Regions from separate parts of the Homo sapiens genome. Here all the other regions are linked to region 5. The links are contacts of gene promoters, found by promoter capture Hi-C in blood cells and fetal thymus (Javierre and others, 2016). All regions are on one chromosome and are shown on one strand. The core of a region is centred on a gene start or on the middle of the fragment in contact, and the rest is flanking DNA. Distances in the headings are between cores, read along the strand shown. Region 1 overlaps UBA6 (ubiquitin like modifier activating enzyme 6). Region 2 overlaps STAP1 (signal transducing adaptor family member 1). Region 3 overlaps STAP1 (signal transducing adaptor family member 1). Region 4 overlaps CENPC (centromere protein C). Region 5 holds the start of YTHDC1 (YTH N6-methyladenosine RNA binding protein C1). Region 6 has its middle 56 kb from the start of UGT2B11. Region 7 overlaps CENPC (centromere protein C).

What was found. Contacts are between HindIII fragments. The CHiCAGO score rates a contact against its expected background, and 5 or more counts as called.
Region 1: a contact is called between a fragment that was not itself captured here and the fragment with the promoter of YTHDC1 in region 5, in 1 of 17 cell types (total CD8 T cells). The highest score is 5.2, in total CD8 T cells.
Region 2: a fragment that was not itself captured here is called in contact with the fragment with the promoter of YTHDC1 in region 5 in 2 of 17 cell types (activated CD4 T cells and total B cells); the score reaches 5.7 in activated CD4 T cells.
Region 3: a contact is called between a fragment that was not itself captured here and the fragment with the promoter of YTHDC1 in region 5, in 1 of 17 cell types (fetal thymus). The highest score is 6.9, in fetal thymus.
Region 4: a contact is called between a fragment that was not itself captured here and the fragment with the promoter of YTHDC1 in region 5, in 1 of 17 cell types (naive CD8 T cells). The highest score is 5.2, in naive CD8 T cells.
Region 6: a fragment that was not itself captured here is called in contact with the fragment with the promoter of YTHDC1 in region 5 in 1 of 17 cell types (megakaryocytes); the score reaches 6.4 in megakaryocytes.
Region 7: a contact is called between a fragment that was not itself captured here and the fragment with the promoter of YTHDC1 in region 5, in 6 of 17 cell types (total CD8 T cells, monocytes, naive CD8 T cells and 3 more). The highest score is 6.7, in total CD8 T cells.

What each region holds. Positions count from the first base shown.
Region 1 is chr4:67,611,103-67,614,428 of GRCh38, reverse strand. It overlaps UBA6 (ubiquitin like modifier activating enzyme 6), which reads left to right. Exons shown (of 33, transcript NM_018227.6): 33 at 1-1,777. Among named protein-coding and RNA genes, the nearest start is that of STAP1, 54 kb to the right of the region's middle. The HindIII fragment of the contact is 4,333 bases long and covers 1-3,326 here.
Region 2 is chr4:67,566,513-67,570,204 of GRCh38, reverse strand. The region is part of intron 1 of STAP1 (signal transducing adaptor family member 1); the gene reads right to left. Among named protein-coding and RNA genes, the nearest start is that of STAP1, 9.6 kb to the right of the region's middle. The HindIII fragment of the contact is 1,909 bases long and covers 624-2,532 here.
Region 3 is chr4:67,591,951-67,595,558 of GRCh38, reverse strand. It overlaps STAP1 (signal transducing adaptor family member 1), which reads right to left. Exons shown (of 9, transcript NM_012108.4): 8 at 2,203-2,299. Among named protein-coding and RNA genes, the nearest start is that of STAP1, 35 kb to the right of the region's middle. The HindIII fragment of the contact is 3,093 bases long and covers 628-3,608 here.
Region 4 is chr4:67,482,782-67,486,366 of GRCh38, reverse strand. The region is part of intron 17 of CENPC (centromere protein C); the gene reads left to right. Among named protein-coding and RNA genes, the nearest start is that of CENPC, 61 kb to the left of the region's middle. The HindIII fragment of the contact is 2,381 bases long and covers 185-2,565 here.
Region 5 is chr4:68,348,346-68,351,762 of GRCh38, reverse strand. It overlaps YTHDC1 (YTH N6-methyladenosine RNA binding protein C1), which reads left to right and starts at 1,673. Exons shown (of 17, transcript NM_001031732.4): 1 at 1,673-2,037. The coding sequence starts at 2,010. RefSeq lists an enhancer at 1,725-2,304. The HindIII fragment of the contact is 7,711 bases long and covers 1-3,417 here.
Region 6 is chr4:69,157,068-69,160,637 of GRCh38, reverse strand. No RefSeq gene overlaps it. Among named protein-coding and RNA genes, the nearest start is that of UGT2B11, 56 kb to the left of the region's middle. The HindIII fragment of the contact is 166 bases long and covers 1,400-1,565 here.
Region 7 is chr4:67,499,377-67,502,791 of GRCh38, reverse strand. The region is part of intron 12 of CENPC (centromere protein C); the gene reads left to right. Among named protein-coding and RNA genes, the nearest start is that of CENPC, 44 kb to the left of the region's middle. The HindIII fragment of the contact is 2,878 bases long and covers 110-2,987 here.

The sequences.
Region 1 (3,326 bases), core at 735-3,234, 740 kb after region 5:
GTCAAACTCTGTAAATATTTTCAGAGATTATTCTGAGCCAAATATGAGTGACCATGGCCTGTGACCCAGCCCTCAGGAGGTCCAGAGAACATGTGCCCCAGGTGGTCAGAGTACATCTTGGTTTTATATAGAAGGCATGAGACATCAAATACGTTTAAGAAATGCATTGGTTTGGTTCAGAAAGGCAGGACAACTCAAAGCGGGGGCTTCCAGGGTATAGGTTAATTTAAAACATTTTCTGGTTGACAATTGGTCGAGTTTATCTGAAGACCTGGGATCAATAGGAAGGAAATATTCAGGTTAAATAAGAGATTGTGGAGAACAAGTTTTATTGTGCAGAGGAAACTCTCAGCAGACTTCAAAGAGAGCAGGTTGTAAAGTGTTTCTTATTGGACCTAAAAGGATGCCTGGGTCTTAGTTGATTATCTCCTGGATTTGGAAAGGAAGGAAGGACAAAAAAAAAATGGGTAAAGGGGAAAGGGGATTCTTTATAGAATGTAGATTTTTCCCACAAGGGATGGCTTTGCAGGGCCATTTCAAGATATGGCAGAGAAACATATTTCGGGGTAAAATATTTTGATTTTCTTTCTTGTTATGCCAGAGTCAGATTGGAAAGTTAAGTCACAATATACAGGGTTAAATAAAACCCATCTGATGAGAATTTATGGTTTGTAGAGCATGACTCCCCAGACTCCTTAGACAGGAATTTGGGCAAGATAACAAAATATCAGAGCTTAGTCCTTACATCTCTTTCTAAACATTTTTTCCCTTTTTTCTATCCCTGTGCTAGTATACCATCATCATCATCATTGTAGCTGATATATTCTTGATATCTGGCCAAACAAATCCTCCCAACTTATTGTTCTTTTAGAGTATCTTGGTTATTCTCAGCCCCTTGTATTTTCAGTTCTCATATTTCTAATTGAAAGCATGTAAATTTGTCACTCCTGCAGTTTCTAATTGTCTTGCTGAAATTTTCAATTTCTTATCTGCTTCAAAATGAAAAGCATAATTATTTTCTAGTCTGTCTAATAATTCCAGAATCAAAACCCGCCTGTGGGTCTGTTTTTATTTTGTTTGTTCTAGTCTTCATTCTTACTGTCTTGTCTCCTTGTGTGCCTGGTTACCTTTAATTATTTACCAATATTGTTTGAAAAAACTAGAAATAACTTGATGCTCAGAATGATATTTTTATCCTCCACAGAGTTTTTTGCTTCTGGCAGGTACCTGCATTAGTAATTTAGGATTATTTTGATCCAGTTTCAGATACTGAAATTTTCCAGGTCACCTAGGTGACTGAAAGCTGAGCCACAGACTGTGGTAATGCTCTTCTGTTCATCCTTATTTCTAGGGTTCAACCATTCAGGGTTTCAAAGCATGGTTTGGAGTTACCAGGCCCTTACCTCTTCACTGACCCTGGACTCTTTTTGAATCTTTAGCCCCTTAGCTCTATCTACTCAACTTCCCAGTGGCCTTTTGCAATCTATAAATACTCCTAACACAGTGGTCCCAAATGAATGGTTCATTTTTCTGAATTTCTATCTTTTCTCAGATATTATTGGCATGGTAATTATTCACCAACTTATCAGCTCCCTGCTGCCTTCCTACATCTTTGAAAAGTATATTTTATCCAGCTTTTCTAAATGTTTTCAAGTGAGAATGTTAATCCAAATTACTTAGCCCACATTATTTCCTGTTGATTATGTGTAAAATACAGTTGGTTTATTTGTATTGTTTTTGTACCTGGAAACAATAAACTCTGTAGTGATTCTCTAAACTATTTGCACATTTTTTTAAATTTTCTTTTTTTTTGTTTTGTTTTTTTGAGACAGAGTCTCGTCGTGTCACTGAGGCTGGTGCAGTGGCATAATCTCAGCTCACTGCAACCTCCACCTCCTGGGTTCAAGCAATTCTCCTGCCTCAGCCTCCCAAGTAGCTGGGACTACAGGCGCCCACCACAACACTCGGCTAATTTTTGTAGTTTTAGTAGAGACGGGGTTGCACTACGTTGGCCAGGCTGGTTTTGAACTCCTGACCTCATGATCCGCCCACCTCGGCCTCCCAAAGTACTGGGATTATAGGCGTGAGCCACTGCACCCGGCCCATTTCTTAAAATTTTCTACATAACTTTAACTCCAAACAAAAATAGTTTAATCTTTTCTAAGATCCAAATTTTGGTTTTGTTGATCCTTTCTATAGTATGTTTGTTTCCTATTCCATTAATTTCTGCCTTTATCAATATTATTCTATTTTATTAGGGATTTTTTCACTATTCTGTTTCTAACTTGTTGAGATGGGTTACTTCTTTCATTTTTAACTTGTCCTCCTTTTCAACATACACATTTAAAAGTTATCTCTATACTATTGTAATATAGTCACATTTACTCAACTATTATAGTCATATTCCACAAATTTTGATATATAATGGTCATATTTAGTTAAAATATTTTCCTAATTTTCATTGGAATTTTCTCTTTAATCCTTTTTTAGGAGAGTGTTTCTTTTTTTCCAAACATGGGCTTTTCTAATTATGTTTTTTGATTTGCAGTTTAATTGAATTTTTGTCATAAAAAAATCTGATTTTAATTATTTGAAATTACTTGAGACTTGCTTTATGGCCAAGAATATGATAAATTTTTAAACAATGTTTATGCATTTGAAACCAGTATATTCTGTAGTAATTAGGGAGAGTGGGAAGGGGAAAAGTCTCTTCTCCATATCTTCAGCATTCTAGTCTCCTAGTACTCGTTATTTGTGGGATCTAAAAACAAGCCATCTAATGTATCTTTTAGGGTTGTTAATTGTGTTATTTAAATCTATATCCTTACTGATTTTTAATATACGTATTATGTCAATTACTGAAAGAAGTATGTTAAAAAATCACCCAATATGATCTTGATTTGCCTCTTTCTCCTTGTATATGTTTCTGGTTTATATATTTTGAGAATAATTATTGACTGCATGTAGTTTAACATGTTACATTTTTCTGATGAATTATATCGCTATGCAGTGTATCAGTAATATGTTTTGCCTTAAAGTCTGTTTTCTCTGTAGCTATACTAGCCTTCCTTTAGTCAGTATTTTCACAGAGTAACTTCTTTCATCTATTTAATTTTAATATTTCTGTATCTTTATGTTTTAAATGTGTATCTGGTAAACAAAATAGATTTAGGATTTTAGTGGAGTTTTTTGTTTTGTTTATTTTTAGATCCAGAGGTCCTCTTATGTTGCCCAGGTCAAAGTGCAGTGGCTCAAGTGGTCCTCCTGCCTCAGCTCCCTAAGTACCTGGGACTACAGACGTGCACCACCGCACCTGGCCGTTATTA
Region 2 (3,692 bases), core at 329-2,828, 780 kb after region 5:
CTATACTATACTTTTTAATCATTGTTTTAGAGTATACTACTTCTACTTTGAAAAAACATAACTAACAGTGAAGCAGCCTCAAGCATGTTCTTCAGGAGGTATTTCTAAAGAGGGCATTGCTATCATAGAGATGACAGCTCCATGCATGTTATTACCCCTAAAGGCCATCCACTGGGGCTGGGCCTGGTGGCTCACGCTGTAATCCCAACACTTTGGGAGGCTGAGGTGGGCGACTCCCTTGAGGCCAGGAGTTCCAGACCAGCCTGAACAACATGGCAAAACCCCATCTCTACCTAAAAATACAAAAATTAGCCAGGCATTGTGACGTGCACCTGTAATCCCAACTACTCAGGGGGCTGTAGCAGAAGAATCACCTGAACCCAGGAGGCAGAGGTTGCAATGAGCCAAGATCATGCAACTGCACTCCAGCCTGGGCGACAGAGCGAGATTCCATCTCACACACACACACACAAAATGGAATAAGATATGAAGGTGGAAGATAATGATATTGATAATCTTGACCCTGCGTAGGCCTAGGCTAATGTATGTGTGTCTTAGTTTTAAACAAAAAGCTTAAAAAGTAAAAAAAAATAAAATAAAGAATTTTAAAAATAGAAAAAGCTTATAGAATAAGGATATAAAGAAATAAAATATTTTTGCAGAGCTGTACAATGTGTTTTTGTTTTAAGGTAATGTTATTACAAAAGAGTCAAAAATTAAACAAGTTTATAATGTAAAATAGTTACAGTAAGCTAAGATGAATTTGTTAATGAAAAAGAAAAACATTTTTTATAAACTTAGTGTAGCCTGAGTGTACAGTGTTCATAAAGTCTACAGTAGTATCTGATGATATTCTAGGCCTTCAGATTTACTTACCACTCACTGACTTACCCAGAGAAACTACCAGTCCTGCAAGCTCCATTTGTGGTAAGTGCCCTATACAGGTATACCATTTTTTCTTTTATACCATATTTCTACTCTGCTTTTGCTATGTTTAGATATGTTTAGATAAACAAATACTTATCATTGTGTTACAATTGCCTACAGTATTTAATACAATAACATGCTATACAGGTTTGTAGCCAAGAAGCAATAGGCTATATCATATAGCCTAGGTGTGTAATAGGCTATACCATCTATGGTTGCATAAGTATACTCCGTGATGTTCACACAATGATGAAATCACCTAACAATGCATTTCTGAGAATATATCCCCATTGTTAAGTGACTCATCACTGTAATTTGATTTGTGTTTAAGTAGTTCATTTTCTAAAACTTTCCTCATTGATTTAAGACTTTTTATGCAATTTCAGTGGAAGCCTACGCATGTCAGATGGACCAGTGAAGGGCCCAGCATAGGAAAAGCATATAATATCTACCTTCTAGGACAGATGAAATAATTTAATGAATTAATACATGTAAAGCACTTAGCAGAGTACATGGCTCATAGCTGGGGTTCAGTAAATAGTATATATTATTGACAGATCAAGAAAATGTGAGAAATTGATAATTGAACACCATCAAAGCTGAACTTTAAAATCCAAATCTTATTGATGTGGTGAATATTTAATTATTAATACATTCATATTACTCTAGATTCTACAGAAATATGACTTTTGAAGTTTAAAATATTTAAATAACCTAGTTAAACTCCCATTTCATTCAATTAAGTTTATTTAAATAAATATGAAGAGTGACTATATTACAAAAGAATGGCAAGTAAGTTTTAAAAATAAAATCCTTTCACATCTAAAGATTTACTTTCATATGCAGCTTTTCCCAAAAGTGTGTTTTAAAAAAATTCCTGTTATTTTAATAAACATGTTAATCATTCCTTCCTTTATGGTTTGATAAGCTGATGTTTTACAACTTATTGAACCATCATGATATTGGCGATTAATATAAGAAAGTTATATAAAGGGTTTTCTCTTTTATTGTGCATGTGAAGATACTTTGTCTTATGGTATTTTGTGTCTCTTCAATATTAACATATCCTTTATGTTTTTTAACCAGTAAAATGTTTGTCGACTCTTCAGAATTTATATGCTTATTTTCTCAAATAATGACGACTCTATAACTCAATTTTGCTTTTAATTCCCTGGCTACCAGGAAGCTCAAGATTAAATTCATTTTGAACTACAATCACCATTTTTTTCTTATGCTCTTGGTAGAACTCTTTTCTTTCTTTGTCTTCATGCCTAATAAGATAATATATGAGTTAGCTTCTCCCATGTAACAAGTCACCCTATAACTTAGTGGACTAAAATAAGCAAATGATTTCTATTTCTCACCATTCTATGGTTGGCTGACGGCCTTTCTGATCTGGGCTTGCTTGGCTATGGCTGAATGGTCTAAGGTGGCCTCACTTACTTGTCTAGGGTCTTAGCTGGGAAGGCAGGAATGACTGGGAAGGGAGGGACAACTGGAGTCTCACTCTATCCATTCTTTTATCCAGTCAGCTAGCCTAGACTTGACACATGCTGGCAGAAGGATTACCAGGAACAAGAGAGAGCAAAACCCAATGGGCAAGCTTATTCTAAGACTTTGCTTGTGTCACATTTACCAACACATGTCACATAACCCAATCCAGATTCAAAGGCTAGAAAATTATTGTTTGCTGTAAGTTCAATTTTGAAACATAAAATAAAGATTAGAGAAATAGATTCAGCCTCTTTATAGGATGAGCAGAAAAGTCATATTTCAAAGAGAGGTACATACAGTAAGACTTGAACAAATTGGTAGTGTGACTGCAGCAATCAACCTCAGGGGCACATTGGAATTTGGGACAAGGTATCTTTGTTCAAGCCCTGCTGTGTTTTCACTCTATCCTCCCCCCAGTTGAGAACTGGTTATAACATGCAATGAACCTGCTGATGCCTCTTGAACCAAGGAACAAATTACCATAGAAAAGAACAATTCAAAAGGGCATATTATTGAAGGATCAGCCAATAAATGGTCCTCAAAGAAGTAGTTATAAAACTAGGCAAAGAGATTCTCTTTCTTGTCTGAAATCCAGATGCCCAATATATACCTGATACGTCTCAGTCAAGCAGTTTAATGACAAGAAAACACATCTTAATTTCAACCCCATCCAAAGTCTTTTCTTTCCTTCTTTTTATATAGGATGTAAAGTGTTATTGCTATAACAGTATCCCTTTACCTGTCTTTCTACCACTTTCTTATACTTTCTAATCTATTAATCTACTCTATTTTTATTTTATTTTATTTTTTGATGGAAGTCTCACTCACTCTGTGGCCCAGGCTAGAGTGCAGTGACGTGATCTTGGCTCACTGCAACCTGCTCCCCTCTGGGTTCAAGAAATTCTCCTGCCTCAGCCTCCCCAGTAGCTAGGACTACAGGCATGTTCCATCATTCCCAGCTAATTTTTATATTTTTAGTAGAGACGGAGTTTCACCATGTTGGGCAGGCTGGTCTCTAACACCTGACATCAAGTGATCTGCCCATTTCAACCTCCCAAAGTGCGGGGATTACAGGCATGAGCTACCGTGTCCAACCTACTTTCGAATCTATTCTGCTCAGTACTGCCAGGGTGAATTATTTCCTTTGCAGAGAGTAGGACTGAGTATCTAATAGGTGTGTTTGGGAGGCAGCAAGCTCAGCTCAGCCCCTTCCTGTCCTCTCTCAGCTCAGTCTACCAGGAGAGAGTGAGTGTACTGCTCTGTTCCCTGCC
Region 3 (3,608 bases), core at 925-3,424, 760 kb after region 5:
GCATTTATTTTTATTTTTACTTTTTAGAGAAAGGGTCTCACTCTTGCCCTTTCACATTGTGCATTGACACAGTCATAGTGCACTGCAACCTTGAACTTCTGGCTGCCTCACCCTCCCAAGTAGCTAGGACTACAGGCATGTGCTACCATACCCAGCATTTTTTTTTTTTTTTTTTTTTTTTTTTTTGTAGAAACGAAGTCTCCCTATGTTGCCCAGGATGCTCTCAAAGTGATCCTCCTGCCTTGTCCTCCCAAAGTGCTGGGATTATAGGTGTGGGCTGCCCTGTTCAGTGGGATAATCTTTTTAAACAAATGGGGCTGGAACAATTACCCATCTAAATGCAACTAAATGAACCTTGACACATCCCTCCCAGTTTAAAAATAATTCAAAATGTATCATAGATCTAAATGTGAAACATGAAATCACAGCACTTCTAAAAGAAAACAGGAAAATAGTCTTTGTGATTTTAGGTTAGGCAGAGTTCTCAGGTATAACACCAAAGTACAATCTACAGAAGCAAAATTTAAAACTTCTGCTCTCCTAAAGACACTGTTAAAAAAATGAAAAGACAAATCACCCACTAAGAAAATACTTCCCAATCACACACATGCACACACACAAAAAGCTTGTATCGGTTCAGAGCTCTCAAAACAAGCATGAAAGAAAAAACAACCCAATAAAAATATGGGCAAAAGATTTAAATAGATACTTTCCCAGATAAAATATATAATGGCAAATAACATATAAAAAGATGCTCAACATTATTATTCAGTAGGGTTATATTTTAAGTGACAAGTTTAAAAATTAGACAATGTAAAAAGAACATCAAAGATGAGAGTAAGAGAAATTCAGGAACCAATAATTTAGATGACAGAGAGTAAAAAACTGAGGGAAGACATTGTAGACATTTTTAAATATTTGATGGCCTTTTAAGTCGTATTGTTTCAAAGCCAGAAATTGGATTAATATGTAGAAGTTGAAGGAATGCTTCAGACTCAATATCAAGGAAGAATTCTCTAATATGAGAACTGTCCAGAAGTGAACTGTGCTGCTTCAAAAATCAAATTTAAGCCCTCTTACATTCACAATTTACAAACAAGCTGAAGGGGTCATATCCTAGAGATGTTTCCTGTACTGAATGTGCAGGTGAGTTCTAAACAGATAAGATACTATAATTTTCTAAAGTTCCTTCAGATCCTGAGAGTCTGTGGTTTTGGTTACTCTTATTATTTAGCATCACAATATTCATAATCATGTTTTAAGAACTTGGACTTTTAAACTTGCTATCCTTTTAATTAATAAGACTATCCAGATATGCCCCAATGCAGATAGCCAAATAAGGTTGCTTTCCCCCATAATCTGTAGAAAAAGAGACTTGTTTTGATAACTAAAATCCACACAAGCTGGAGATATTTTCTCTCTCCTGCTTACAGTTTGCCAGTGACCATGTGTACCAGGAACTGTTGCATAAGATAGAGAGAGACTATTACATTCAGCCTGGCTTGCTCTGCCAGAAGTTGGATTGCAAAGAGAGCCAGTTTCAAGGGTGTGTAAACTGTGCAGTTGCATAGGGTCTCATGCTCGGTTTGATGGTTTGCTATAACTGTTTTTGAAATTCTTAATTTATGAACAAGGGGCTGGCAAATTCTGTAGCTGGTCCTAGCTACAATCTTTATCTGTAATTCCTCACCACCCACTCATTCCTTGTTATTTTGCAATCTGACTTCTGCCTTCATAGTGGAATACAACTTCTCTCTCTCAAGTCATCTATTGGCTAATCACCAGTTTTCATCGTCTCTTCTTAATCTTCATTCATTTTATCCTGTATTACGCATCTAACGTTGTTGACAGACTATCCCTTTAAATTCCATTTGGTTTCCATTAACTTGTATGATTATGGTTTCCTCTTACCTCTGAATTTGTTAGATAAAGCTGAGTAGAATGATAGAATGAAGTTAATAGTAATACTACATACCTCAGGGTTTTCCATTCCCTAAAATGCACCCATACTCTGTTCATAATACATATTGGTACTTTCCTATTTTCACAGACTGAGTGACAAAATGATTTCCAAATGGATAAATTTAAAGACTGAACTACAGTTCCTGCCTGGCTGGTACTATCAATCATATGCAGAGTTTTGGGGATTTTGTTTTGTTTTGTTTTGTTTCCCTTAACATAGCAATGAAGTGAAAAACATACCAGTGTTTTCATCAGTTGAACATATAAATGGTCTTAAATTTCCTCGAGTCTCCTTCACAAAATAATCAATGACACTGAAAAGGTTTGGGAGTGTTACCTGTATTAATAGAGAGTGAGAGAAAACTCAGCATCACCTGCATAAGTATAGAGTAAGAGAAGGCTCAACTGGAATCTAATGGAGATTACTGTCATTACTTCACTTCAATGGCTTACTGTATGACCATAGTTTTACCTATCCCTGTGTCTTATTTATCCTTTTTAATTGACCATGTGTCCATTCTCTGTTGAGGAATTACCACCTTTCCCATTGAATACAATCTGGTAGACAATAGTTAGGTACCTTGCTCTCCCTCAATTAAAGCATAAGAATGTAAGCCAAGTGTGGTGGCTCACACCTGTAATCCCAGCACTTTGGGAAGTCCAGGTGGGAAGATCATTTGAGACCAGGAGTTTCAGACCAGCCTGAGCAACATAGCGAGATCCTGTCTCTACGAAAATTGAAAAAATTAGCTAGGTGTGGTAGCTTACACCTGTAGTGCCAGCTGCTCAGGAGGCTAAGGCAGGAGGATTCCTTGAGTCCAGGAGTTCGAGGCTGCATGAGTTGTGATAGTGCCACTGCACCCCAGCCTGGGTGACAGGGTAAGACCCTGTCCCTTAAAAAATGAGGGGAGCAAAAAATGTGACTCAAGTTAGCTAGAAAATGCTTTCTTTCTGAAATTTGAACTTGAGTAGAAGAACAAAGAAGGATCCAGTTTCCTAATCAGATGGTTCTTAGCACAAGTAACTGCGTCCTAGTCCCTGAAGGTTTGCTACCCTTCCAGTCATTCTATGTTCTTATAATAAATTTATTTTTTCTTAAGTTAGCTGTAGTTGGTTTCTTATGCTTTAAAGCAAATAACCTTTAAAACCAGAGAATTTAAGCATTTTAGTATTTTATTGTAACAGGATAATTTGCCGGTCTAGGAGTAGATAAAATGTGTCTCTACCCCTAAACTAATATTTTTATACAAATGAAATCAGAATAAATATACCAGATAACCTTGAAGAGGAAAAAGAATTCCTGAGCCAGGCGCAGTGGTACACACCTGTGGTTCCCGCTACTCGGGAGGCTGAAGTAGGAGGATCGCTTGAGCCCAGGAGTTTCAGGCTGGCACTATGATTGTGCCTGTGAACAGCCACTGTGCTCAAGCCTGGGCAACACAGCAAGACCCCTGTCTCTAAAAAAAAAAATCACAAAAATACAACCTTACTGAGGGGTTGAGGAGTATGGTTGGGGAGGGTGAAAAATGAAAGAATAATCCAGGCTGTTAGTTTTCCTTACACTGTAGACTGTATGAGCTAATGACAGAAATGAGCCCCAGTTTACCCAGTTACAAAGATGACACATTATTCTTCCTTGTCCATTG
Region 4 (3,585 bases), core at 126-2,625, 870 kb after region 5:
GGTTATGTTTTTTAGAAGCACTTGATCTTTCAGTACATACTGAAATATTTGCAGATGAATTATGATACTGGGCATTTATTTTGAAATAAGATGGAGTGAGGATAGTAGACTCTGGCTTGGGCAGGTGGTTAGCATTAAGTATTCATGAGAGTTCATCATTCTATTTTTGTATGTTTCAAAAGCTTTCTTAATTAAATGTTTACAGAAATGAGGAGAGGTGTGCTTAGAGAACCAAATTGAATAGATGAGAAAAAAACACTAGAAATATATACTTTTTAGTATTACTTTTTTGTCTTTTTGATTAAGGCAAATTATTTTTGGATGTAATAACTTTTTTTGTCTTATTAAGTTATAAAAATACCTTTGAAACATTTCGGGGGGCTTTTTTCCCCATTTAGGGAGGCAGTATATCACAGTGATTAGGGAATGAATTCTGTAATCTAAATGCCTGAGTTCAAACTCCCCCCCTTTGCCATTTACATTGTGACCTTGGAAAATTACTTAACCTCTCTGTGCCTCAGTTTCTTCATCCATAAAAAGCTACTAAAGTAGTCGCTGTCTCATTAGTGGGCATATACATTAAGTGAATAAGAATAAAGTTCTCATAATACTGCTTGGTATAGAGTAAGTGCTATATAAGTGCTAGCTGTTATTGTTATTCTGGTATATTATGATCATTGTACAAAGTAGTAATAAAAAATAAGGAGGAGAAATAATTATCTGAGGCAAAACATTCTTGATGGATGTCTTAGTCAGATTGGGCTGCTATAATAAGAATACCATAGACTTTGATCTGTGTCTCTTATAAGGGCACTAGTCCCATTCCTGAAGGCTCTGCACTCAGGACCTAATTACGTCCCAAATTCCCCACCTCCTGATCCCATCACATTGGGGGGGTTAAGATTCCAGAGTGTGAATTTTCAGGAGACAAACTAATTTCTAACAATGGCTGAATCTCAAAGTTTGAAGGCCTTATGCTGTTTATTTTAGTTGCTCAAAAAACCAGGTCACTGCCAGTGTGTGCTACCTATGTATAAAGTATGAAATTTGGCATGTTTGAATATGAAAGCCAGCATGATTGAGAGATTTATCCTCTTTTACTTTCTTAGTCTTGATGCTTGTTTAACATATGATTTTGAGGGGAATAGGGATTTAGCTTTTTGCTTTCTTTGATTCTTCAATCAGATTGAGTAGTTTGTTGTCCTAAGCATGTGACCTTTAAAGAGGCATACATAAAGCCTAGGTATTTTTTTAGTGTAGGTGATAATCTTTTTGAGTTGGAGTCTCGCTCTGTCACCCAGGCTGGAGTGCAGTGGCGTGACCTCAGCTCACTGCAAGCTCCACCTCCCAGGTTCACGCCATTCTCCTGCCTCAGCCTCCCGAGTAACTGGGACTATAGGTGCCCGCCACCACGCCTGGCTAATTTTTTGTATTTTTCATAGAGATGGGGTTTCACTGTGTTAGCCAGGATGGTCTCGATCTCCTGACCTCGTGATCCGCCCACCTAGGCCTCCCAAAGTGCTGGGATTACAGGCGTGAGCCACTGCGCCCAGTGCGGTGATAATCTTTATAGTGTAGGTGATAATCTTTACAGTGGCTGTAGAATTTTCATAAGCCAGTAAGTAATAAGGAAAAACAAAATAAGGAAAAATAAAAGAAATCTCTTCCTGTATTACAATGGTCCCCATCCTTTTTGGCACCAAGGACTGGTTTGTGAAAGACAATTTTTCTTCCACAAAAATTGGTGGTGGCAGTGGGAGTTGGCATTAGATTTTCATAAGGAGCACACAACCTAGATTTCTCACATGCACATTTCACAATAGGGTTCATGTGCCTGAGAGAATCTAATGCTGCTGCTGATCTAACAGGAGGCAGAGCTCAGGCAGTAACACTCACTGGCGTGCTGCTTACCTCCTGCTGTGTGAGCCCATTCCTAACAGGCCACTGCCAGTAGCGGTCCCTGTCCTGGGGGTTGGGGACATCTGTATTAGTTTTCAGTTGCTGCTCTAACAAATTACAGCTATGTGTTACTGAGAAATGAGTCATTAAGCTATTTTGTCTTATGAACGTCATAAGATGATATAGCCTACTACGAACCTAGGCTATATAGGATGATACCCTGTTGCTTCTGTACTTCAAACCTGTACAGCGTGTTTCTGTGCTGAATACTGTAGACAGTTGTATTTGTGTATCTAAATGTAGAAAAAGTACAATAAAAATGTGGCATAAAAGATAAATGTTACCCTTATAGGGCACTTACCATGAATGGAGCTTTCAGGACTGGAAGTGGTCCTGGATGAGTCAGTGAGTAAGTGCTGAGTAAATGTGAAGACCTAGGACATTACTGTACACTACTGTAGACTTTATAAATACTGTAGACTTAGGCCACACTAAATTCATAAACAGAATTTTTCTTTCTTCAGTAATAAACCTCATCTAACTGTAACATTTTCACTTTATATCCTTTTGTTGTTGTTGTTAACTTTTGGACTCTTTTGTAATACTTAAAATTCAACCATACTGTTTGGCTGTACAAAAATATTTTATTTCCTTATTCTATAAGCTTTTTTCTATTTTTTTTTTAACTTTTAAAACTTTTTTGTTAAAAAGTAAGACACAAACAGCACATCAGCCTTGGGCTACACAAGATTAGGATCATTATCACTGTCTTGCACTACCACATCTTGTCCCACTGTAAGGTCTTTGGGAATAGTAACACACATGGAGCTGTCATCTCCTATAATAACATTGGTTTCTTCTGGAATACTTACTGAGGGACCTGCCTGAGACTGTTTCACAGTTAACTTTTTTTTTTTTTATATAAGTGGTAAGAGTACACTCTAAGGTAATGGATAAAAGTATAGTAAATACATAAGCCAGTGGCATAGTTGTTTATTATCATTACCAAGTGTTTTGTACCACACAAAATTGTGTTATATTTTATTTTTTACTTCAATAGGTTTTGGAGAACAAGTAGTGTTTGGTTACATAGATAATTTTTTTTTTTCTTTCATTGAGATAGAGTCTCCCACTGTCCCCAGGCTGGAGTGGCACGATATCAGCCCACTGCAGCCTCTGCCTCCCGGGTTCAAGCAATTCTCGTGCCTCAGCCTCTCAAGTAGCTGGGATTACAGGATGTATTAGTCCCTTCTCATACTCCTATAAAGAACTGCCCAAGACTGGGTAATTTTGAAAGGAAAGAGGTTTAATTGACTCACAGTTCTGTGGGGCTGGGGGTGCCTCAGGAAACTTACAATTATGGCAGAAGGGGAAGCAAACATGTCCTTTTTCACATGGTGGCAGCAAGGAGAATTGCCAAGCGAGGGGGAAAAGCCCCTTATAAAACCATCAGATCTTGTGAGAACTCACTCTCATGAGAACAGCATGAGGGTAACTGCCCCCATGATTCAACTACCTCCCACTAGGTCCCTCCCATGACATGTGGGGATTATGGCAGCTACAATTCAAGGTGACATTTGGGTGGGGAGACAAAGCCAAACCATATTACAAGAGATTATTTATTTAGTGGTGATTTCTGAGATTTTGGTGCACCTATCACCTGAACAGTGAACACTGTACCCACCG
Region 5 (3,417 bases), core at 424-2,923:
CAGAGACGGGGTTTCACCATATTGGTCAGGCTGGTCTCAAACTCCTGACCACAGGTGATCCGCCCGCCTGGGCCTCCCGAAGTGCTGGGATTACAGGTATGAGCCACTGCATCTGGCCTGCAAATATTTTCATATGAATCATGAAATTATAAGAAATTCTTTAAAAAGCAAAACTTATTAAAACTAAAAATACAAATAGCAATTCCTCAGGATCATCAGATATTATTTAATGTGTGTGTGTGTGTGTGTTTGTGGCGTGTGCGTGTTCGTATATTCAAATTAGTGTTCAATTAAGGTCCTAGAAATGGGGCCACTCCTGGTGGCTTCACACCTGTAATCCCGCACTTTGGGAGGCCGAGGTGGGAGGATTGCTGGAGCCCAGGATTTAGACACTAGCCTGGGCAAGATGGCTAGGTGTTAGCCATCTTGCGGAGATGGTATATCTCCACAAAAAATGCAAAAAATGTGTCGGATGTGGTGGAGCATGCCTGTAGTTCCAGCTACCTGGGAGGTTAAGGTGGGAGGATCACTTGAGCCCAAGGTTGCAGTGAGCCATGATCACACCACTGCACTCCAGCCTGTGTCACAGTGAGACCACGTCTCAAAAAAAAAGAGGTACCACATTCTAGACTTCTAGACTACTTGTCTTTCCCTGAATATGCAGTTAGTTTGCCAGTTTGTCTTCATATCACGAAGTTACTTAGTTACCTTTTTCAGATTTTTCTTTCCCTTATAACTCAGTTATAGTTCAAGGAAGCAAAATTAGATTGTTTCCGTTGGACAATGAATCTTAAGCAAGTTTCTCTTGCAGATTTTACCACACTATGTAGTTATGTATCTACTGGTCATTTATTCTGTAGTTTCGATTCCTCGATGGTCTGCTTAAATCAATTTTGTGCCCCAGGGCCTTGATAACATGTTTAAATTAGTTATTAATTACAAAGACCTATTATGATACAATTCTTTCCCCAATTAAAAACAAAACTAGGCCGGGCGTGGTAGCTCACGCCTGTAATCCCAGCACTTCATCCTGGCCAACATGGTGAAATCCCGTCTCTACTAAAAATAAAAAAATTAACTGGGCGTGGTGGCGGGCGCCTGTAGTCCCAGCTACTCAGGAGGCAGAGCCAGGAGAATCGCTTGAACCTGGGAGGCGGAGGTTGCGGTGAGCCGAGATCGCGCTGCTGCACTCCAACCTAGCGACAGAGCGAGACTCCGTCTCAAAACAAACAAAAACTAGCAGGCTTTTGTGACTACAAACAAGCTGGTTGCATGCTGCACTGCCTTTGGGTAAGAGTGGAACTCCAACTAAGAAAGTACATCTGGTAAACATAAGGGATTCACCCAGACTTGTCCTAAATAAGACTCCGATTACCCGAACTGAATCAGGAGTCCTTTAGAGCGACTCTAGCTAAGAAGGCCTGTTAGGCCCTGCACTAAGAGTTTCAGGTGGGAAAATTGCGCCATCCAGTTATAGGCCGTACAGCGGGAACTCCATGAACAACCTGGGTAACCTAATCCCTGAATAAGACTCCTTCCAGGTACCAGTGGGCTGAGGGCGGCAGGGCGACGCGCTGACGTCACGTCACGTTCCTTTGCACGTCCCCGCCTCCCCGCCCCTCTCCGCACTGTGACGTTCCCAGAGAGGAACGAAGCGTAAACAGCGCAGGGCATTTCGGGAGCGGGATTGTTTCGCGCAGGAAGCAGGCTCCATTTTAGCGCCGCCCGCCGTCGCCATCTGTTTCCCTTCCCTCCCCCATACCTAGCCCGAGTCTGAGCCCTAACGAGAAGGCTGGGCCTAGGCCGCTGGATGCTGGAGTGAAAGGAAGGGAGAAAGGGAAAAAGCGGGAAGAGTCGAGAAGGCTGAGTGTTAAGAGGCCAAGTGCGACGCGCGTATCCGGGCAGACGGACTGACGGACGGGCCCGTGCTTCTGCCGCGGCTGCGGCGCCCGCGCGAGTCGCGTCTAAGCGGCGGCGGCGGTGGCAGCGGCGGAAACCGAAGGGGAGCCATGGCGGCTGACAGTCGGGAGGAGAAAGGTTAGTGCGGAGAAAGATGACGGGCCGAGGCGAGGCTGGGGCCCGGGAGTGGGGTGATGGAGCAGTGGTCGTCGTTGGGGGTGGGGGGTGGGGGTTGGGGAGGTTAGCTGGCCTCGCGAGGAGCCGGTGGCCCCCACCGAGACACTTAGACTCTGGCGGAGACCAGGCCTGCCCTTTCGTCCTCAGTCTCCATATGGCCTAGCACTTCATCTCAGTAGGGTTTTTCTTTGATGCGGATTTCACGCTTGACTTTCCGTTTAGCTGTCTTGGGCTGAGAGGGGCCCTTTCTGAGTTGCAAGCTCCTAGGTTTATTTCCTGGTAGGATCATGCGGATGTAACGCGTATTTTCAGGACAACCATTTCTGTTAGGCTAAAATTTGAAAACCCCTAATGCCGCGATCAACACTGGTGGTGTGGTAAGTGAGCAAGTTTAGGAAGTGGCACTGGCAGGTTATTAATCTTGAGAAATATCTGCAAATAACTTCTGGCTGTTCCTGTTAAATAGGCAAAGTGAATTACCCGTTTTGTTCCTCGAATACTTATTTTGGAAAAACATAGTACTTGGAAAAAGGAATACTTAGTTTGGAAAGATGACTGTGTGACTTAGGCTGGCAAAGAAATCCTGGGTGCTATTATGTTAGAAAAACCGTGTGTAGCTCCCAGAGGGTACAGTCAGAAACAAATGAATGCAAGTTACAGAGAGTTGGAGGGATAAATTTCAGTGAAATGTAGAGAGAACTGACGTTGCTGTAATGGAAAGATAGTAATACTAAGTTCCCAAGCCCTAGAGATATTAATGTAGGTCCTAGATCAGTGTCTCTCTGGAGAGTGGTCTAGATTAAATGCTGCTTTAAGATCTTTTTCAACCCTAAGATTAACATAATAGTCTTGGAAAGATTATAGTTAAAAATATGACACGGTCGCTGCTCTGTGTCTCACACATCTCTTCTGTGTGCCTAATTGATTTGGGGTTTTTTTGTCGGGGGTTGTTAAGTGGGCTCTAGAGTCAAGTTACATTAGGCGTGTAATCCTTTTTTCTTAATTTTTCTGGTTTCTGCATCAGGAGAGTCTTCATGCTTCAATGAACTGCCCTAGGTTAGGGACAAGCTGGGAAAGTGGAATGGGTGGGAATACTTTTAAGATACTGCCCTTATCCTAAAGTAGTTCTTTGATTAGGTTATAGCAGTTTAATGTTCCATCCTTAAACTAAATGCTAAAAAATCTCCCTGGGCCTTTTTTTTTTTTTTTTTTGAGAAATCCAGAAGTAATGGGAACATAGGATTGTATGGTGTTAGTGAGTAAAGGAAAATGCTTTTAATTAGTTAACTCAGTTATTAAAATACATGATCTTAATTAGTAAGTATTCAGCAAACATCTGAT
Region 6 (3,570 bases), core at 233-2,732, 810 kb before region 5:
TATACCAGACACAGAAGGGGTTTACAAGTGATCCTGGAAGTTATGTTTTATCTCTTATTCATGCTTTCCAGGAAAAAAAGCTTATCTTTATCATCAGTTTCTAATGACTATAATCCATTTCCTTTAATTGTTTACTTGCCTACTGATATGGCTTGGATACTTGTCCTCACTTAAATCTTATATTGAATAGCAATTCCCAATGTTAGAGGTGGGGCCTGGTTGGAGGTGTTTGGATCATGGGGGCGGATGCATCATAGCTTGGTGCTGTCCTCACTAGAGTGAGTTTTCATGTAAGATCTTGTTGTTTAAAAGTATGTGACACCTTTCCCCATCCCCAGGTTGACTCTTGCTCCTGCTTTTACCACATGACGTGCCTGCCCCATCCCTCCACTCTTCATTTTCTGCCATGATGGTAGGAGGTCCCGAGACCACCCTAGAAGCCAAGCAGATGCCAGCACCAGGCTTCCTATAAAGACTGCAGAACCATGAGCCAATTAAATTCCATTTCTTTATAAATTACCCTATCCCAGGCATTTATTTCTAGCAATGCAGGAATGGCATAATGCACTTAATTTATTTGTAGTTTAAGTGATATAGGCCTTATATCATGCACTGCCCTAGGGAGAAGAAATGGGCAGTTCTTAGGACTCAGACTGGCTCTGTGGGATTGGGTAAGACATATAATTCTGATCTTTATCAGTAAGGAGAGAGGTATGAAGAGCACATCTATAGGAAAGGTTTTGAAGACTTCCAGAATCTCTGTCAGCCTGATTGAGGAGGCATTTTCCTTCCAAATCAGGTCCATAAATAGTAGAAGAGGTGACTTCTTCCTCAAATACACAGACACCAAAACAAAGATATAAAAAGCATAAAAAATAGGAAAATACGATGCTTCTGATGAAACAAAATAAATATTCAGTAATTAAAAATAAAGAAATTGAGATCTATAAATTATATGGCAAAAAATTCAAAATAATTATCTTAAAAACATCAGTAAGCTACAAATGAACAGCTGAAATAGAAATAAATGAATTCAGGAAAACATTACATGAAGAAAATGAGATATCATTGAGATAGAAACCATAAAAAAAACAAGCAGAAATCCTGGAGCTGAAGAATACAATGCAATAACTGAAATGAAAACATTAAATGAAATTAAATGAAAAATTTAAAATTTCTCTACAGCATTGGTTTTAGTGGTGTCTCTAATACCTGTTTGTACATAAAGTTTTATTGGAACATACCCATGCCCATTCTTTAAAGTATTGTCTGTAGCTGCTTTGCACTACAATGACAGAATATGTGCAGCAGAGTCCATAAGACTTGCAAATCTAAAATATATATTATCTGAGGTTTTACAGGAAAAGTTTCCTGATCTCTGTTTTGCAGTGAAAAAGCTTATTTTTCTTCTAATTTATCTATAAATTTAACACAATATTAATACAAATGTATAGCTAAGTATAATCGTATTAATTGATTAAAGGTTGATTAATACTAATTGTATTAATAATGAGCTAATGAATTCAACTATTTCTATTTAAATTTTATTTAGAGCAAACAAAGCTTTTGGGGGTTATATACATCTCCTGAGCAGTGTACACTGTACCCAATGTGCAGTCTTGTATCCCTCCCTGCTCCTATCCTTTCCCCCAAGTCCACAAAGTCCAATGTATCATATATAAATGAAAAAATGTAAGCTGCTGTATATTTGTAAGAATATTATTCTTAAATATTTTAAAATATCTCCATTAATAACACAGTTGTGTTTATTTGTTTGTTTGTTTTTAATTTTTGTTGGGGTTTTGATTTTGATTTATTGAATTTCTAATGCTGCTGGTATATAAAAATATTTTCAGAATTTGTTTTTCATTTCCCCTTATGTTAGTTAAATATGGTGACAGACAGAATTCCTTCAGGCTAAATAGTAAAGTTAAAGTTATATTCTCTACTTATTTTTACAGATTACAATAAAAAGAATTCTGTCTTGGCCATTACCAAAGTGTTTAGCTGTCTAGTTTGAAATTTCCCTCATAAGATACATACACATACATTTATGCAGCACAGATCTTTTTTTTTTTTCAAATAAAAAACCAAGTTCTGGGAGATTCTGTGTCTTCTATCATGAATTATAATCTTGGCCATAACTTACAGGTACACTCTGAAGTAAAATTTTAAAATAAATCTCAGAAGTTACTTCATAAAAAGCAATTACTTAATACAAAATAAGGCACGTATAATATTTTAAAATATTCTCAAGGGTAAGAGTTCCGCTAGCTATATTGTTTTTAAATCAAGAAATGGAATTGAGGAGATTTTTGACCAATAAATCTTCCTAGGTAAAAAACTGAAATAAAATGCCTGGAGTGAAGCCAACTTGATTATGGTAGATAAACTTTCTGATTTGCTGCTGGATTTGGTTGACTATTATTTTAATGAGGATTTTTGTGTCAATGTTCATCATGGATATTGGCCTGAGGTTTTCTTTTTTTGTTTGTATCTCTGCCAGGTTTTGGTATTAGGATGATGCTGGCCTCAAAGAATGAGATAAAGAGAATTTTCTCTTTTTCAAATTTTTGGGAATAGTCTCAGTAGAAATGGTAGTTAGATCTTCTTGTTGAATTGAATTTTTTACCATTATATATTGTCCTTCTGTTTTTATTTAAATTTGTTTTTCATATCAATAAGTTTTTAGGGAACAGGTAGTGTTTGGTTAAATAAATAAATTCTTTAGTGGTGACTTCTGAGACTTTGGTGCACCCATCAGCAGAGCAATATACACTGTACCCAATGTGTAGTCTTTTCTGCCTTACCCCCCTCCCATCCTTTCCCCCAAGTCTCCAAATCCAATGTACCATTCTTATGTGTTTGCATCCGCATAGCTTAGCTCCCCTTGTGAGTGAGAGTATATGACATTTGGTGTTCCATTCCTGAGTTACTTCACTTAGAATAATAGTCTCTAATTCTATCCAGGTTGCTGCTGTCAATGCCATTATTTCGTTCCTTTTTATGGCTGAATAGTATTCATATCTATATGAAGATATATATATATATTTATACATATAAAAATATAAAGCTCATCCCCCAAATTTTCTGCCACTTTCAAGGCAACCAGCAGCAGTCAGCCATTGGTTGCCAGTCTTCCACAGCAGTCAAAGTTGGATTCAAAAGTAACATAACGTCCTTTCTGGAGTTTAAATACCTGGGTTAAATTCTGGAAAGCCTCTGTATACCTGTCAGGGTCATCTGAAAACTTGGCCAAGATCCCCCCTTAATTTGCGTTAAGTCCTGTAAAGAAAAGGGACCTGGAACTTAATGGAGCCACATTGACCAGGCGTCTGTTGTAGTGGCAGAAGCAAGACTTGGACCTGCCTAAAATAAGTATTTCAACGATGTGGCAAGTTTGGCAGAGAACCTGGGTAGGGTGGAATAGAGGGAGTTAACTCCCCCACTAGAAGTACCTCTAGGATTTGCTTCCCTAGTTCCTTGAAATTGCCCTTTGCAGCCTTTCCTGAGATGGCCACTAGGAGGGCTGAATCCATCCTACAACATTGGTAAAGGGCCAGATTACCC
Region 7 (3,415 bases), core at 299-2,798, 850 kb after region 5:
GCCCGAGCTCCTGGAAGAATGGCAATATTACTACCTGATCTGGGGACTACTGGGGAAGAAGCAGATTTTGAGGAAAAGAACAGGATGTTAGATTTGGACATACTAAGCTTGATGTTCTCAACCTATGTATTCTTTTTATTTGAGATCTATTAAGGACTGCTAGAGTTGAAGTAAAGTGTTCCCACTGCAACTGTCTTTGCCCTTGTATTTTCTGTAGTCTTTGTTATGTACATTTCAGTGCTGTTACTGATCACATAAGCCTTCATATGGAGTGTACCTGCTTTGGTCAAATTTATCTGCTTCGTTGTGTTAAATGCTTTTTACTTTGTAGTTTGTTTTGTCTAATATTAGTATTGTGACTTCTGCTTTCTTTTGGTTGGTTGTTGTTTCTTTATCTTTTTATTTAACTTTTATTAGAGAATTAAAAGTGGCTAAGAAACAGCATATGATTGAATTGTTTTTGACTCGCTGTGTCAGTACTTTTTCCTTTAATAAATTGTTTAATATATATACACTTATTGTCAACAGATATACTTGTTACTTCTTTGTAAAGTTGGTAGACATTCTCACATATTCTAGCAAGGACTCAGGATTTTTTTTTTCTTTTTAAACACAATGAACCACCAGCTAAATAGAGAACATAATCTTGAGTCATGATCTTTTTTTCTTTAAACTATCACCGTATTGCTATTTTGCTTCATGAGAGTTAATGCTTATGAATAGAAATTTGAAGGCAGCCTTATTTCTTCTTTCCTTTGTAGATAACCTGTTTTCTTCCATCTCCATACTTACTAGGATCCTTTAATCTTTGAAATTTAGGAGTTGTCCCTTGTGTTAGTCACTTAAAAAATAATTTATTTTGAAATAATTTCAGTCTTATACAGAGATCCCATATCCCCTTCATCAAGATTTCACAATTGTCCACATTTTACAACATTTTTCCATCTCCCTCCCTGCCTCCTCTAATAAATACACGTCTATTATCATACATCTTTTTTCTGAACTATTTGAGAGGGAATTGTAGACATGATATATTATTTCCCTTAAATGCCCCATAATGTATTTCAGCAAGACAAGGATATAACTACCCTCGAACCATACAAATAAGGAAATCAGCATTAATACAACACAGGTTCATTCACAGACTCCATTCAGATTTCACTAGCAGTTCCTTTTCCCTTCTAGCTCAGGATCCAGTCCTGGATCTCAGAGTTTCTTCTTCCTCCTGGTTCAAGATCCAGTCCTGGATCGTCGACTGCATTTAGCTGCCATGTCCCTTAGTTTCCTTCAACATGGAACAGTTTCTTAGTTTTTTTCCTAACTTAACTCATGATCAAATGTGTGCCATTCATATTTGACAGGAATACTACAGAAATGATGCTATAGGGTTAGGAGTTAGGGGATGTAATTTGTGCATCACACAGGAGGCACACAACGTTCACCCATCTACATGATGCTTTTGTTTTTTGTTTGTTTGTTTGTTTGAGATGGAGTCTTGCTCTCTCACCCAGGCTGGAGTGCAGTTGTGTGATCTCAGCTCATTGTAACCTCCACCTCCCAGGTTCAAGCAATTCTCATGCCTCAGCCTCCTGAGTAGCTGTGATTACAGGCACATGCTACCATGCTGGGCTAATTTTTGTATTTTTAGTAGAGACAGGCTTTCACCTTGTTGGCCAGGCTGGTCTCAAACTCTGGACCTCAAGTGATCTGCACACCTCAGTCTCCCAAAGCGCTGGGATTACAGGTGTGAGCCACCATGCCCTGCTGACATGATATCAATCCTGATTACCTGTTCATGTTATTGTCTGCCAGGTTTCTCTACTGTAAAGACACTGCTTTTCTCTTATAATTGATAAATATTATTGTGGAGTGATATTCTGATACTCTTAATAGCCTGTTTCTTGTCAAACCTCCATTCACCAACCTTAACATACATTCAAGACTCCCACTTGAATTATCAGCCACTAATGATGGTACCACATTATTTTCTATTTTCTGTTTCTTTAATTCCTTCCGCATTAATTAGTTGCCAGTTTTTCTCCCGCATGCCAATTATTTTATTCATGATTCTTTTTATTTATATCAGTATGGACTACTACTATTTTATGCCATGGGGTTGTAAAATCTTGACCATTTATTATGATACTTGAATTGTGATAGATTTGGTCACTGGATTTTCTTTCAGCTGGTCTCTGTGTGCTTTTGTCATGATTCTGTGAATACTGTCTTTGTTTTTTGGCATAAGATGTTCCAGTCTTTTTCCTGCCCCAGCTCTGGGATCAATTACTGCTCCAGGAAACCTGGTTCTTTTTAGTGGAAGATGGCATTTAGAAACCAAGATTTGGGCACTTGACGTGATCCTTGTTTGGGATACCATTGCTTCTAGTCTTTCTCAGTGTACAGAGATAGGAAATAGATATATATATACACACACACATACACATATGTACACACCATATACAATACAGGCATCTATATCTATTTCTATATTTATATTTATACAGGCATACCTTGTTTTATTGTGCTTTGTGTCACTGCATTTTGGAGATACTGCATTTTTCACAAATTGAAGGTTTGTGGCAACCCTTTGTTGAGTAAGCCTTATTGGCACCATTTTTTTTTTCAATAGCATGTGCTCACCTTGTGTCTCTGTGTCACATTTTGGTAATTTTCACAGTATATCAAACTTTTTCATTACTATGTCTTTTATGGTGATTTGTGATCAGGTGATCTTTGACATTACTATTGTAATTGTTTTGGGGCACCGCAAACCACAGCTACTTAAGAAAGTGAAAATTCATGTGCTCTGACTGCTCTGCTGACTGGCCAGTTCCCCATCTTTCTCCCTCTCTTCAGGCTTCCCTATTTCCTGAGACACAATATTGAAATTAGGCCAATAATAACCCTACGATGGCTTCTAAGTGTTCAAGTAAAAGAAAGAGTCACACATTTTTCACTTTAAATCAAAAGCTAGAAATGATTAAGCTTAGTGAGGAAGGCATGTCAGAAACCGAGATAGTCCAGAAGCTAGGCCTCGGGCACCAAACAGCCAATTTGTGAATGCAAAGGAAAAGTTCTTGAAGGAAAAGAAAAGTGCTACTACAGTGAACACATGAATGATAAGAAAGGGAAACTGCCTTACTGCTGATATAGAGGTTTCAGTGGTCTGGACAGAGGATTAAACAAGCCACAGCATTCCTTTAAGCCAAAGCCTAATCCAGAGGAAGGCCCTAACTCTCTTTAATTCTGTGGAGGCTGAGAGGTGAGGAAGCAGCAGAAGAAAAGTTTGAAGCTAGCAGAGGCTGGTTCATGAGGTTTAAGGAAAGAAGCTGTTTCCATAACATAAAAGAGCAAGGTGAAGCAGCAAGGTCTGATGTTGCAGCAAGTTATCCAGAAAATCTAGCTGAGATAATTG